3 separate regions of the Homo sapiens genome follow, and regions 1 and 2 are each linked to region 3. Evidence: promoter capture Hi-C in human tissues and cell types (Jung and others, 2019). All regions are on one chromosome and are shown on one strand. The core of a region is centred on a gene start or on the middle of the fragment in contact, and the rest is flanking DNA. Distances in the headings are between cores, read along the strand shown. Region 1 overlaps NSD1 (nuclear receptor binding SET domain protein 1). Region 2 has its middle 45 kb from the start of LINC01574. Region 3 holds the start of ZNF346 (zinc finger protein 346).

Region 1 (4,143 bases), core at 1,174-3,673, 260 kb before region 3:
AGTTTAAGTCCAGCCTGGGCAACATGGTTAGACCTCACCTCCACAAAAAATACAAAAATTAGCCAGGCGTGGTGATGCGAGCCTGTAGTCCCTGCTACTCAGGAGGCTGAGATGGGAGGATCACTTGAGCCTGGAAGTTGAAGGTTGCAGTGAGCGGAGATGGCACCAGTGCGCTCCAGTTTGGGCGACAGAGTGAGACCCTCTCTCAAAAAATAAATAAAATAAAATATAATATCATCAGAGACAAACTAGTTTCAGTTCCTTTGTCACACATCTCTAGAGCCCTTTATACTTTCACACTGGGAGATGATTTGTTCAATATTTCTCTCCCTCCGAAATGTAAATTTTATGAAAGTATAGGCCATATCTCTCGTCTTGGTTAGTGCATCCCCAGCACAATACCTGGCACATACAGTAAATATAAAAATAACTACTTAGCAAATGACTAAACGCCAACCCATATACACTACATTTCCTGGAAACCAATAAAATTCTTCAGAAAATGTAACCAGAATAAGGCTTATTTTATTAAAAAAAAAAAAAAGACTATACAATATTATTTATTTATTAGAAACTTAGAGATCCTGCCAAGTTTTAAGTTGAAGACATGACTGCATTTTCATCCAATAAGGCTTAACCTTCTTATCCTTCATGTTTCATGAAGCCAGACCTGTTTTTTCCTCACTAAAAATGTTTTATTAGTAGGTGGATCAATGTCTCTGTATCATGTGCTCACTGTCATCTCTCTTAATTACCAGCTGTAGGATATTCACAAAAAAGCAAACAAAGCCATAGCATCTCTATGAATGTCCCATTTTTTCCAACCTCCTACACAGTGACCATGATCAATACAAAGGACTTGGGAGATCAAAACCATCCATTCGTAAGCCTCTAAACGGTAGAAGGATATGGCAAGACACAACAATAAGGTTAATTATTAACTGTGTTATTTTCTTCTATGATGAATTTTCTAATGTCAAGGATCAATGATATCAAGCAACTGCAAAGAGGAGAAAGTATATGGTAATTTAGCTTTTTCTAACCTTTTTAATATCTGTTTTTGTCCGTAGACCCCAACCCCGCTGTAATGTGCGGAAAATTTCAACCTCTGGATATTGGCGCTTGGAAAAGCACTGGTTTTGACAGCGCCCTCCGGCAGGACACACTGTGGGGTGGCACTCATAGAGCAGCATGCGGTTGATGCATTCAGAGTCTATCCCACAGGGGTTCTCATCAGTAGCTTTACAGTTGCAACGGGGTATTTCAGATAAGTCTGCAGTGAAGATCTGTACCCTGCCAATAGGACGGTTTACCTGGAAAAGTAACACAAAGTACACCGCATAAAACAAGTCAGCAGAAGACAATTCACGTCCTGAAAAAGGCAAACTTTTTTTCCTTGAAGTTGCAGCCACATTTCCCATGATTTTGAACTATCAACACTTAGTTTCATATAAAAACAGAGCCTCACTTGACATACAAAATATGAACTCCACAAGAATTGCTTGAACCCAGGAGGCGGAGGTTGCAGTGAGACAAGATTTCACCACTGCACTCCAGCCTGGCCGATATGTTGAGATTCCATCTCAAAAAAATAAAATACGAGCCAGGTACGGTGGCTCACGCCTGTAATCCCAGCACTTTGGGAGGCCGAGGCAGGTGGATTACGAGGTCAGGAGATTGAGACCATCCTGGCTAACACGGTGAAACCCCGTCTCTACTAAAAATACAAAAAATTAGACAGGTGTGGTGGTGGGCGCCTGTAGTCCCAGCTACTTGGGAGGCTGAGCTTGCAGTGAGCCTAGGTCGTGCCACTGCACTCCAGCCTGGGCAACAGAGTGAGACTCGGTCTCTCGGTCACAAAAAATAAAATAAAATAAAATAAAATAAAATAAAATAAAATAAAATAAAATAAAATATGAACTTTAAAAATTTTTTTGAAATTCATTTTAAAAAATAATTTCAGCCGCGCCTGGTGGCTCACACCTGTAATCCCAGCACTTTGGGAGGCCGAGGCAGGTGGATCACGAGGTCAGGAAATCAAGACCATCCTGGCTAACACGGTGAAACCCCGTCTCTACTCAAAATACAAAAAAATTAGCCAGGCGTGGTGGCGGGCACCTGTAGTCCCAGCTACTCAGGAGGCTGAGGCAGGAGAATGGTGTGAAACTGGGAGGCAGCGGAGCTTGCAGAGATCGCGTGACTGCACTCCAGCCTGGGTGACAGGGCGAGACTCCGTCTCAAAAAAAAAAAAAAAAAAAAAAAAAAAATTTTCAAAGCTGATAAGCCAGGTGAACTATAAACTAGGTTTCTGCTATTGCCACATGTTGGTGTCACATTTGCTGCTACAAAAAAATAGGCATTATTCTTCCTTCCTTTTTTTGAGAGGGAGTCTAGCTCTGTTGCCCAGGCTGCAGTGCAGTGGCGGGATCTTGGCTGACTGCAACCTCTGCCTCCTGGGTTCTAGCCATTCTACTGCCTCAGCCTCCCAGGTAGCTGGGACTATAGGCACACACCACCAAGCCCGGCTAATTTTTGTATTTTTAGGAAAGATGGAGTTTCACTATGTTGGCCAGGCTGGTCTCGATCTCCTGACCTTGTGATCTCCTGACCTCAGGTGATCTGCCCGCCTCGGTCTCTGAAAGTGCTGGGATTATAGGTGTGAGCCACCACACCTGGCAAAAGCACTGTTCTTAAGTGGCAAATAAATGGCATGAAATCATCTGTGTGTAATTTGAGTTCCTCTATGCTTCCTGCATCAGCCTCACAAGTAGTTGGGACTACAGGCAGGTATCACCACACCCAGCTTATAATTTAAAATCTTTTAAAAGGACTATAGCAATGTCACTCATGGATTAATTTAGAAGTGGTGCTAGTGCTCAAAAACACAGTGAAAGTTTGGTGAGTTAAAACATGAAGGTCAAACAGTTATTGTGACACCAAAGCCATTAATGTAGAGGTTTTAACAAATACTAGCAACAATAAGGAAAGACAATAGATGTTCCAGTACAATAATGGATTTGTGCATGAGAATGTATCTCCCCTCATTTCATATTATTTCAGTGGGAACAGTCAAATTTAGTCTTCTAAGACACAAACCGCACAAAAAATTTTGACTGTTCAGGAACTGTGTGATTTTGAATAAATTACTTGCAAGACTATTGTAAGAATAAGAAATATATGTATAGTACAGCACCTAGCTGCCTCTTAAACATGGTAGACATATTAAATTCTTTCTTCCTTTCTTATATAATGCCCTTATGATTGTTTCTCTCATATCAAATATTCTAGATTACTCATTCCAGTACACCTAAAATCACTTACTTAAAAGTCATTTCTGTCCTCTAAATTTTCAAATGCTTTCATTTCTTGCATTTTATTATTTGCCCACTCCCCTTTAATATTATGAAATCTACAATCTGGATATATGCTGCCATCAAACCATTTTTCTATCAACATTTAACAGGAGGAGGCCAGGTGCAGTGGCTCACATCTGTAATCCCAGCACTTTCGGAGGCTGAGACTGGAGGATTGTTTGAGCCCAGAAGTTCAAGACCAGACCAGGCAACACAATGAAACCCTATGTCTACAAAAAAATTATAAAGCTTAGCCGGGCATGGTGGCAAGTGCTTGAGGTTCCAGCTACTCAGGAAGCTGCAGTGGGAGGATCGTATAGACCTGCAAGACACTCCAGCAAGATGCTGTCCGTGGGGAAAATGGATGTAGGTCTCACTGCCAGATCTGTTCCTAGATTCATCAAAACACTGGTAAGGTTTGGAAACTTCTTGCTAATGGAGAAATATCCCCAACACATGCAACTGGAAGCCATAAGGCATAAGGCTTACAATGTCTAAGGCAAATTCTAAGGGGACAGACAACAACAGCTAATCTCAGTCACCCAAGACTACAAGTCCTGAATAGGGCATTTGAACATTCACTTCTGATTCGAAATATTTTTACTTGAACCCTTCCCAAATACACATAAAGGTTCATGCTACTTCTTTTCTCTCTACAAATATATATTTGTTTTTGTTTTGAGACAGGGTCTTACTCTGTCCCCCAGACTGGAGTGCAGTAGTGCAATCACAGCTCACTGCAGCGTTGACTTTCCAGGCTCAGGTGATTCAGGTAGCTGGGACAACAGGC
Region 2 (4,270 bases), core at 1,221-3,720, 320 kb after region 3:
ATTATTAACAGCTCCCGCCGCAGCCTCGGCTCGCCCAGAGACACGGATGATTTAAAGATTCAGGTGCAAGAGAAAATAGCATGAAGCCATGTATGTGTGGTGGAGCGCAGCTGGCGCCGGTGCCACACCCACTCTGCCCAGAGGTGACGAGGGCATGGGCCACCCAGGCCCCTTCCTGGGTGGAAACTTGGGAAGTGGATAGATCAGCCGGACCAACAAGATAAGGTCAACCCTGGTGTTTAAAATACCTGCAGAGGCCAGGTGTGGTGGCTCACGCCTGTAATCCCAGCACTTTGGGAGGCCAAGGCAGGTGGATCACCTGAAGTCAGGAGTTCGATACCAGCCTGGCCAGCATGGCGAAACCCTGTGTCTACTGAAACAAACAAACAAAAAAATGAAAAAATTAGCTGGGCATAGTGGCCTGTGCCTGCTTGTAATCCCAACTACATGAGAGGCTGAGGCAGGAGAATTGCTTGAACCTGGGAGGTGGAGGTTGCAGTGAGCAGAGATTGCACCACTGCACTCCAGCCTGGGCAACAGAGTGAGACTCCGTCTCAAGTAAATAAATAAATAAATAAATAAATAAATAAATAAATACCTGCAGAGCCCTCTATGGCTCCCAGAGGACCTCCATATTTTCTTAATTAAACCCCAGGGTTTAGAGAGCGTAGGAGTTTGAGCTCTGATCCCCAGGCAGGAAGAGGGCCAGGTAAGATTCCACCCTGGGCATGAAGCCCTCCCCGCCACTGGCGGTTCCTGGGATCCGGGACTGCCCAGGTACACAGTGAAGGAGGGAAGGGTTTGCCTGTGGGGAAAATGTGGCCCGTGGGCTGCCTGTTCCCACTGAGCCATGCTCCACTGTCACATGGCCTCCAGAAATCAGACAGAACTGGTCTCCAGGGAGGCCTTGGGTCTTGGCAATGCCCATGGAAGGTACCCAGGCCGAGTGCTGAGGCAGCGGGAGACAGCAGGGAAGGAATAAAGGAGGAATGTGTGACACCCAGTAGAACGGCCGAGCCAGAAAATACCCAAGTGTTCACTCTTCTGTGTTCACTGTGGGCGCACAGGGTGGCCGCACTGCCTGATAAGGACAGAGGCGGGTTTAGATCTCCTCCATAAACTCACTGTCCAGATGCACAGAGGCCACAAGGCCGCGTCCCCCACACATCGTCCTGTAAAGCTGCTGCCACAGTAGCCCCATCGCACCCTGAGATGACCTCGTCCCGCATCTGTGGGCTTGGGATGGGGTCTGCTTGGTGTCCCTAAAACATGGCTCCAGACGCAGAGGGTGCCCTGTGATGTCTTACCGAACCAGTGAATAAATATGTTAGATGCTCTGCCTGAACAGCTTCACACAGGCCTGGGCCGGCTCCTGCCAGCTTCTAGGAGCCAACTGTTAAATATTCAAGATTCATGGCTTTAGTTGTTCAACAATTAGTAGCTTGAGTCAGCCAGGGTGAGAGTATTTACACCACAGCCATCAGCAAAGGCTCCCAGTCCAGGCTGTTTTCTACCCAGCCCCACCCCAAGCAAAACACCAAAAGCCAATCTTCTTAATCTGAGTTAATCTCCTTCACCTGCAAAATCTTCCAAATGCAGGGAAAGTTGAAACACCTCCTGCAGTAGGTCCTGTTCTGTTTCCTCTGATGCTTTAGTTCCTATCTTTTCAGCCACCTCCGGCAAGCCCCAGGGCCCCTTGGAGCTGGTGCCAGAAGAGTTCATTCCCATCACCTCCTCACTCCCTTCCTCAACGCACCACCTGTTCTGCTCGGGCTCTGGCCCCAGGTGGGGTATAAACACCCCCAGTGATAAATGGCCCGGCAAGCAGCAGTGCCGGTGACGCCGGAGCCCTCTGCTCCCTCCACCACCTGTTCTGTCCCAGCTGGAGGGAGGGGTGCTGGAGGAGGGGGCTTCCATCTGAGTCAGAATCATTCATCCTAAGTAATTAGCTGCCAAAGAGAATGCAAACCTGCAGCCGAGGAGCAGAGGTCTCCCCCCAGCCAGCTTCTCCAAACTCCTCCTGCCCCAGACTTGCCTCCGGAGGCAGCTGGGAGAGCTGGAAACCTGAGGAGGCCAGAAAACCATCTGCCAGGGCTCAGGTCTCTTTGCAGATCAAAAGCTAAGCCACTCCTTTCAAGACTGCCTCTGTCAGGCCCTGCCTTGTCCAACCCACAGCTTCCCTCCCAAGGCTGCTGTGCTGGGCCTCTCTCATCCTCTCCTGAGCTGTATTGGTTGAGTTGTATTGGTTACCTGCGCCTAAGGCATCTCAGCCCAGGGCAAGCAAAGGCTGCGCATCATCACCCACTGAGTCAGGCCCTGATCTTGGACCCAAGTGTGGGTAACTGTGTTTGGGTTGTGCCTGATGCCCAGGCCCCATCTTCTGCCCATTTTGGTGCCTTCCCCCATAGCAGGCAATGTAGGTGCCCACTGCAGTGTATGCCAGCCCAACCTCCAGCCACCAGCGCCTGCGACCACATTTCTTTGCCCGAGACCTTTCTCTGCCATCTGGATGCCACTCTGCCCATGTTGCCACGGGCCAGAGTGCTGGAAAATAGGGCCCCCCGAGAGAGGCCATCAGCCAGTAACTGATAGGAGCTGGTGTCTAGGTGCCCATAACCCTCCCCTTGTGTGGGGTACTCTCAGGCACGCTGTCCACACTGAGCCCAGCCCTGCAGGATGGAGCTGTGGTTGCCCACAGTTGGAACTCACTGAGAGCGCTCCCTCTCCTGGCTGCTCCTTTCCCTTTCCCATTCCCCTACCACCTCCCAAATTAACTACTTGTATGGGAAACCTTGTCTCAGGGTTCGCTTCCAGGGGGATGCAAACTAAGGCTGCCTCCTTCCAATGCATGACTGAGCACCTGCTGTGTTCCAGGTGCTGCAGCGAGAAAAGGACACAGGTGTGCAGGCTGTGCCCTGGGCTGGGCCCATGTGGGAGGATAGGCAATGGACAAGGAATCAAATCATATCCTCTTACATGGTCTTAAACACAATGATGAAAATGCAACCGGATGATGGCAGTGATGGGGAAGAGTTTGTTTTAGAGGAAGAGAGGGCAGATAGGGAAGAGCGGATCTCTCCAAGGGAGGGTCAGCCATGCAGAGAGCTGCGGGAAGAAGATTCCAGGCAGAGAGAACGGCAAATGCAAAGGCTGTGTGGTGGGAGTGAGCATGGTCGGTTTAGGAACACATAGAAGGCATTGTGGTAGGAAGGAGGTGTGCCAGGAGAAGGTGGAAGAAGTGAGGTAGAAAGAAACGCTGAGGCTGGACCTGGTGGGCCCCTGCAGAGCATGAAAAAGAGTCTGTGGGTTCAGGAGCACGGGAAATCTTGGGCAGGGTTGAGAGGGGAGGAGGAGGTTTGCTCAGCACCACAGAGCATCGCTCAGCCTGCTGCGTGGAGACTGGGTGGAGCAGGGGCAGGAGTGGATTACAGAGGCACCTGGGGCTCCCCCCCGTCATCTAAATGGGAGACGTTGGTGCTTGGAGCAACTCCGTGTTCTCTGCAGGTGAACCTTCCATTTGAAAACCTGCCCTTTCTCTGCTGAGGACCAGTCCCTGGCCTGTGAGTGCCATTCCCCAGGCCCCTCCAGGTTGGGGGTGACCTCCAAACCTCAGGCTAATGCCTGCTTCCTTGTTCCCTCTGGAGTCCCCCACAATGCCACATGTCCCCGCCCACCACCTGCCCAGGGAACATCCTTGCTCCCCATGACTGGGCATCACTAGGGGCCTCCCAGCTTTTGCCTGCTCCACAAGTGAGCAAGTGTCATTCCAGATCGAAGCACCACTGCCACCCCGACCCTGCCTTCCCCAGTCCAGCCCCCAGAATGGCCCCTCCCAGGGCCCAGGGCAATGATCATTTAGTGGCACCATGGGCTCGCAGCAGCTTTCCCTGAGTTCCTCAGAACACATTAACTACATTATTTTTCACTCAATATCCATCAAGAAACCCTTGAGAGAGCTGAAGGACGTGGCTTAGCCCTAGTTTACAGATGGGTTGTACAAATAGAAAGGTTTCCACATTTTTCAGGAGCACCGAGGAACAGAGCCTTGGTGAATCCTAAACTGGCATCAATCACAAATGGGCACAGTTAGGGGAAGAGTTGTAAGCCTTGTATGGAAACCAGGTTTGGGGCCTTGCTGCCTGCCTCTGCTGGGGAACAGACACCACAGACCCAGAGACCCCGCAGACCCCTGCTGGGGGACTAGGGGAGAGCTTGCTCTTGCTCTCTCAGGAGGGCCCCGGGTTACCTGCCGGGCTGGCCCCATCCTGCT
Region 3 (4,448 bases), core at 107-2,606:
CACACACCATTTCTGGGGCCCTGTCTCCTTCTTTTTTATATATAATATACATTATATATATATATAAACTTAGGAGACAGGCTAGACTTGTTTTTAAATTGGAGAAGTATATACCAGGGTATAGGTCTGTGTACCTTCCTTAGATATGGTCAAAATTTCAATTTTATCCAATTTTATCCAGGGCAGTCAGTTCACAAATAGCATATTAAACTTTCGAAGACAAGTCTGCTCAGCAAGCAAACAAATCACTGGAGAAATCTGATTTCCCTCCAGATACCTGACAAGGTTAGCAGAGAAGCCCAGATAGAGTTCTTGTACATCTGGGTTAGCATCAAGCAGCTGGCTCTGTAAAGGACAGTGAAGGGAGTCACACAAGCAGGTCAGGACAGCTCTTTTCCATCCTTCTCTTTCTTTCATCCCATCTTACCCAGTCTCAGGTCAAGTGCAGAGCAAGCTGGGGCGCTTCGGCCCAGGAGTGACCCCTAACGTGGCTTTGCATACACTGTTCTCAGCAACTTTGGGTCAAGTGTAGGACACAAAGAAGCTGGAGCCAAAGCAAACCCAGACCAGTTTCTCAGGCTCCTTGTCCCCACCTTAGAATAAGGGACCCAGCAAGTAGAGGCCAGAGAGCTAAAAACGGGTAAGCCAGGGCTCAGTCATCAAGACCAGGAGGAACCCAGGGGGTAAGGAGAAGGCCTTCCAGAGCCCTCGGAAGTGTGGGGCTTGAGAGAAGGGAGGCGAGAGGCCCTAGGAGGAAATCTGGAGATTGGGACGATGGGGAGTCAAGGAGTGGTGAGGGGCACTCGGCTTGGCTTACCGGGATGGCAAAGACTGTAGGTCTCCGACAGGACGAGTATAGGGATGACAGTCCTCGAATGTGGGAAAAACTGCGCTGTAGTGAATGATGAAGGAGGAGGAGGAAAACCCAGGGCCTGAGCGTGAGCGGCCCTTCACCCTCAGCGCGCTGGGGGCCCGATTCTTGGGGTGCCCGCGCCCGGATGGGGAGCACAAGTCTGGGGGTCCCGGGGCGCAGCACGCAAGGAGGCGGGCCAGGGGGTGTGACCGTCGGCGCTTCCGCAGTTCCCCGCGAGCCGCGCAGCGGGCGAGGGGCTTTCTGCCTCCAAAGCCCCCGACTCACCTTCCTCTCTACCCACCGGCTGGGCACCGGACACGGCTTCCCACAGGCGGCGCGCCCTCTCGCGGTCAAAGCGCACCCCGTCCGGCTCCTGGCCCTCCAGCAACTCCGAGCTGCTGTAAGGCCCGGCCGCTCCGCCGTCCGCGGCCTGCACCGTGGCCGGCGCGGGATACTCCATCTTCCCCGCAAACCCTCACCGGTAGAGAGCCTCTCAGGCGCCTAGGTATCGCGAGATTTGGTGGGTGGTACTTGGCCCAGCCAACAAATCTCGCGAGGTTTGGGCGCTGCACCCGCGCTGCCGTGCGGGACCCCGCGCTTATTTTGCTTTGCTACCTCTGGTACCTCAGAGCGTGTGCCGTGGATTCGGAAACCTGTCGCTGATTCCGCAGCAGTGACCCCCCCCTCCCGGAGAGGCTCGTGTGGTTTTGGCTCATGGCTCTCACCTTGCTCACGGTCAGCCCTTGATACTTTTCATTTCGTTCTCAAGGTCCCGTTATGTGGGAGTGTTTTCGCCATTTCATTCACAGGGAAACTGAGGCCCAGAACCTAAAAATGGTTAACTCAAGAGCTCGCTACTAGTAAGTAGTAGTACAGCTAAGGTTCCATATTACTGCTAATAATACATACTATTTGTTGAGTTCCAAGTGCCAGCTCCCAGCTCTGATCTTCCCCGAGACTCCGGACCTGTATACATCCAGTTGCCTCTTCCACAGTTCACTCGAATGGCTAATAGGCTTCTCCAATGTAGCTGTCAGACCCCAAATTTTATCTTCCAACCCCAGAGCTGCTCCTTCCCGTGTCTTTGGGAGCCACCATCTCTTGCCTAGGTTATTGTAGTAGCAACCTCACTGGCATTCCCAGCACAGCAGTTCCAGGAATCCTCTTATGACAAGTCAGATCATGACGCTTAGGTTCTCAAATCCTCCAACAGCTTCCCATCTCACTCTTAGTAAAAGCCAAAGTCCGGCCAGGCGCGGTGGCTCACGCCTGTAATCCCAGCACTTTGGGAGGCTAAGGGGGGGCGGATCACCTGAGGTCCGGAGTTCGAGACCAGCCTGACCAACATGGAGAAACCCCGTCTCTACTAAAAATACAAAATTAGACGGGTGTGGTGGCACATGCCTGTAATCCCATCTACTCGGAGGCTGAGCCAGGAGAATGGCTTGAACCCGGGAGGCAGAGGTTGCTGTGAGCCGAGCTGGCGCCATTGCACCCCAGCCTGGGCAACAAGAGCGAAACTCCGACTAAAAAAAAAAAAAGCCAAAGTCCTTACTTCGACCAACAAGGCCCTGTACAATCTGACTTCCCTTAACCTCCCTGATCCTGATGTGTTACTCAGTCCCCAACTCCTTAATTCCTGTCCCAGTTATCCAGGCCTCCTGGGGTGAATTTCTCTCATATATCTTCATGGCTCAGTCTCCCACTTCCTTCTCTGGCTACTCTATCTAAAATACCTTGTCTGGCTATCCCATCTAAAATGTTACTTTTCCACACACACTTCATGTCCTTCTTTCCTGCTTTATTTCTTTTATATTTTACCTTTTATCTTGCTTATTGTCTGTCTCCCGACTAGAAGGCAAGCCCCAGGAAGGCAGGGATTTTTGTCTCTTTTCTTTTCTTTCTTTTTTTAAATTGTTTTTGAGGCAGAGTTTTGCTCTGTCGCCAGGTTGGAGTGCAGTGACGCGATCTCGGCTCACTGCAGCTTCCGTCTCCCGGGTTCAAGCAATTCTCCAGCCTCAGCCTCCTGAGTAGCTGGGATTACAGGCACATGCCACGGCACCCAGCTAATTTTTATATTTTTGGTAGAGACGGGGTTTCACTATGTTAGCTAGGCTGATCTCAAACTCCTGATCTCATAATCTGCCTGCCTCGGGCTCCCAAAATGCTGAGATTACAGGCACATGCCACCTTGCGTAGCCTTTTGTCTCTTGTCATTGCACCTGAATCTCCAGCACTTTGAAATAGAACCTGGACCCTCCTAGGTATATACAAAACATTTGTTTAATGAATGAAGCTTTTAATATTACTAGCTTATTTCAACCTCATTTTTTCAAATACTTATGGAGAATTTACTATGAGCTAGATGATATTTTGAGCATGGAAATATAGTGGTGAACAAGACAGGGAAGCTGTAGTAAAGTATTTTTTATTGTAGTGGAGGAGAGTACAATAAGAAAGTTAACAGTAGGCCTGGCGCAGTGGCTCATGCCTGTAATCCAGCACTTTGGGAGGCCGAGGCAGGTGGATCACGAGGTCAGAAGATCAAGACCATCCTGGCTAACATGGTGAAACTCCGTTTCTACTAAAAATACAAAAAAATTAGCCGGGCGTGGTGGCGGGCGCCTGTAGTCCCAGCTACTCGGGAGGCTGAGGCAGGAGAATGGTGTGAACCCAGCAGGCGGAGCTTGCAGTGAGCCGAGATCGTGCCACTGCACTCCATCCTGGGCAACAGAGCGAGACTCCATCTCAAAAACAAAAAAAGTTAACAATAATAAGTGCTAAGGAGAAGATAAAACAGGATTGCATCTCAGGTGAATGATGTGTTAGGAACATTAATCAGGGTGGCATCAGGAGAAGCCTCTGGGAAAATGACATTTGAGCTAAGACCTGATTAATGAGAAGGCGTAGCCATGCAAAGAGCTGGGCAAGAGTGTTCTAGCAGAGAGAACAGCAGGTACAAAGGCCCTGAGGCAGGAGAGAGCATGATGTGTTGGAGGAACAGGAAAAACGACAGCATGGCTGGAGCCCAGTGAACAAGGAGGAAAGTAATATCAGAGGAGGCCAAAGAGAGACAGATATGAATTATTCTTGCTTGAGATCATATAGCTCATTGGTGTAATTTAGTCATTTATACTACAAGTATTTCCTTATTTATACTACAAATATTGAGCACCAGCACTATGTCAGGCCTCAGGCCCTAGAGCTTCCAAGCTTCCAATACAGTAGGTGACTGATGTTTGGCCAGTGTTTTACAATTTTTTTTTTTTTATAGACGGAGTCTCTGTTGCCCAGGCTGGAGTGCAGTGGCACCATCTCAGTTCACTGCAACCTCCACCTCCTGGGTTCAAGCAATTCTCCTGCCTCAGCCTCCCGAGTAGCTGGGATTACAGACATCCATCACTATACCCAGCTATGTTTTCTATTTTTAGTAGAGACGGGGTTTCATCTTGTTGGCCAGGCTGGTCTTGAACTCCTGGCCTCAGGTGATCTGCCCGCCTTGGCCTCCTAAAGTGCTGGGATTACAGGCATGAGCTACCACACCCAGCCTACAATTTTTTTTTTTTTTTTTCCGAGACAGGGTCTCACTAGTGCA

What was found. The method cuts DNA at HindIII sites, captures the fragments that hold promoters and counts their contacts. A contact is called where the count stands out against the background at its distance.
Region 1: a contact is called between a fragment that was not itself captured here and the fragment with the promoter of ZNF346 in region 3, in 1 of the 25 tissues and cell types used here (IMR-90 fibroblasts).
Region 2: a contact is called between a fragment that was not itself captured here and the fragment with the promoter of ZNF346 in region 3, in 1 of the 25 tissues and cell types used here (dorsolateral prefrontal cortex).

What each region holds. Positions count from the first base shown.
Region 1 is chr5:177,277,735-177,281,877 of GRCh38, reverse strand. NSD1 (nuclear receptor binding SET domain protein 1) reads right to left here. Exons shown (of 23, transcript NM_022455.5): 18 at 1,044-1,313. Among named protein-coding and RNA genes, the nearest start is that of RAB24, 24 kb to the left of the region's middle. The HindIII fragment of the contact is 7,633 bases long and covers 1-4,143 here.
Region 2 is chr5:176,695,954-176,700,223 of GRCh38, reverse strand. No RefSeq gene overlaps it. Among named protein-coding and RNA genes, the nearest start is that of LINC01574, 45 kb to the left of the region's middle. RefSeq lists enhancers at 1-446, 2,093-2,916. The HindIII fragment of the contact is 6,715 bases long and covers 1-4,270 here.
Region 3 is chr5:177,019,604-177,024,051 of GRCh38, reverse strand. ZNF346 (zinc finger protein 346) reads right to left here and starts at 1,356. Exons shown (of 7, transcript NM_012279.4): 1 at 1,139-1,356. The coding sequence starts at 1,313. It also overlaps a transcript of UIMC1 not described here. RefSeq lists enhancers at 578-1,114, 1,542-1,591, 1,115-1,652 and a silencer at 992-1,141. The HindIII fragment of the contact is 9,260 bases long and covers 1-3,608 here.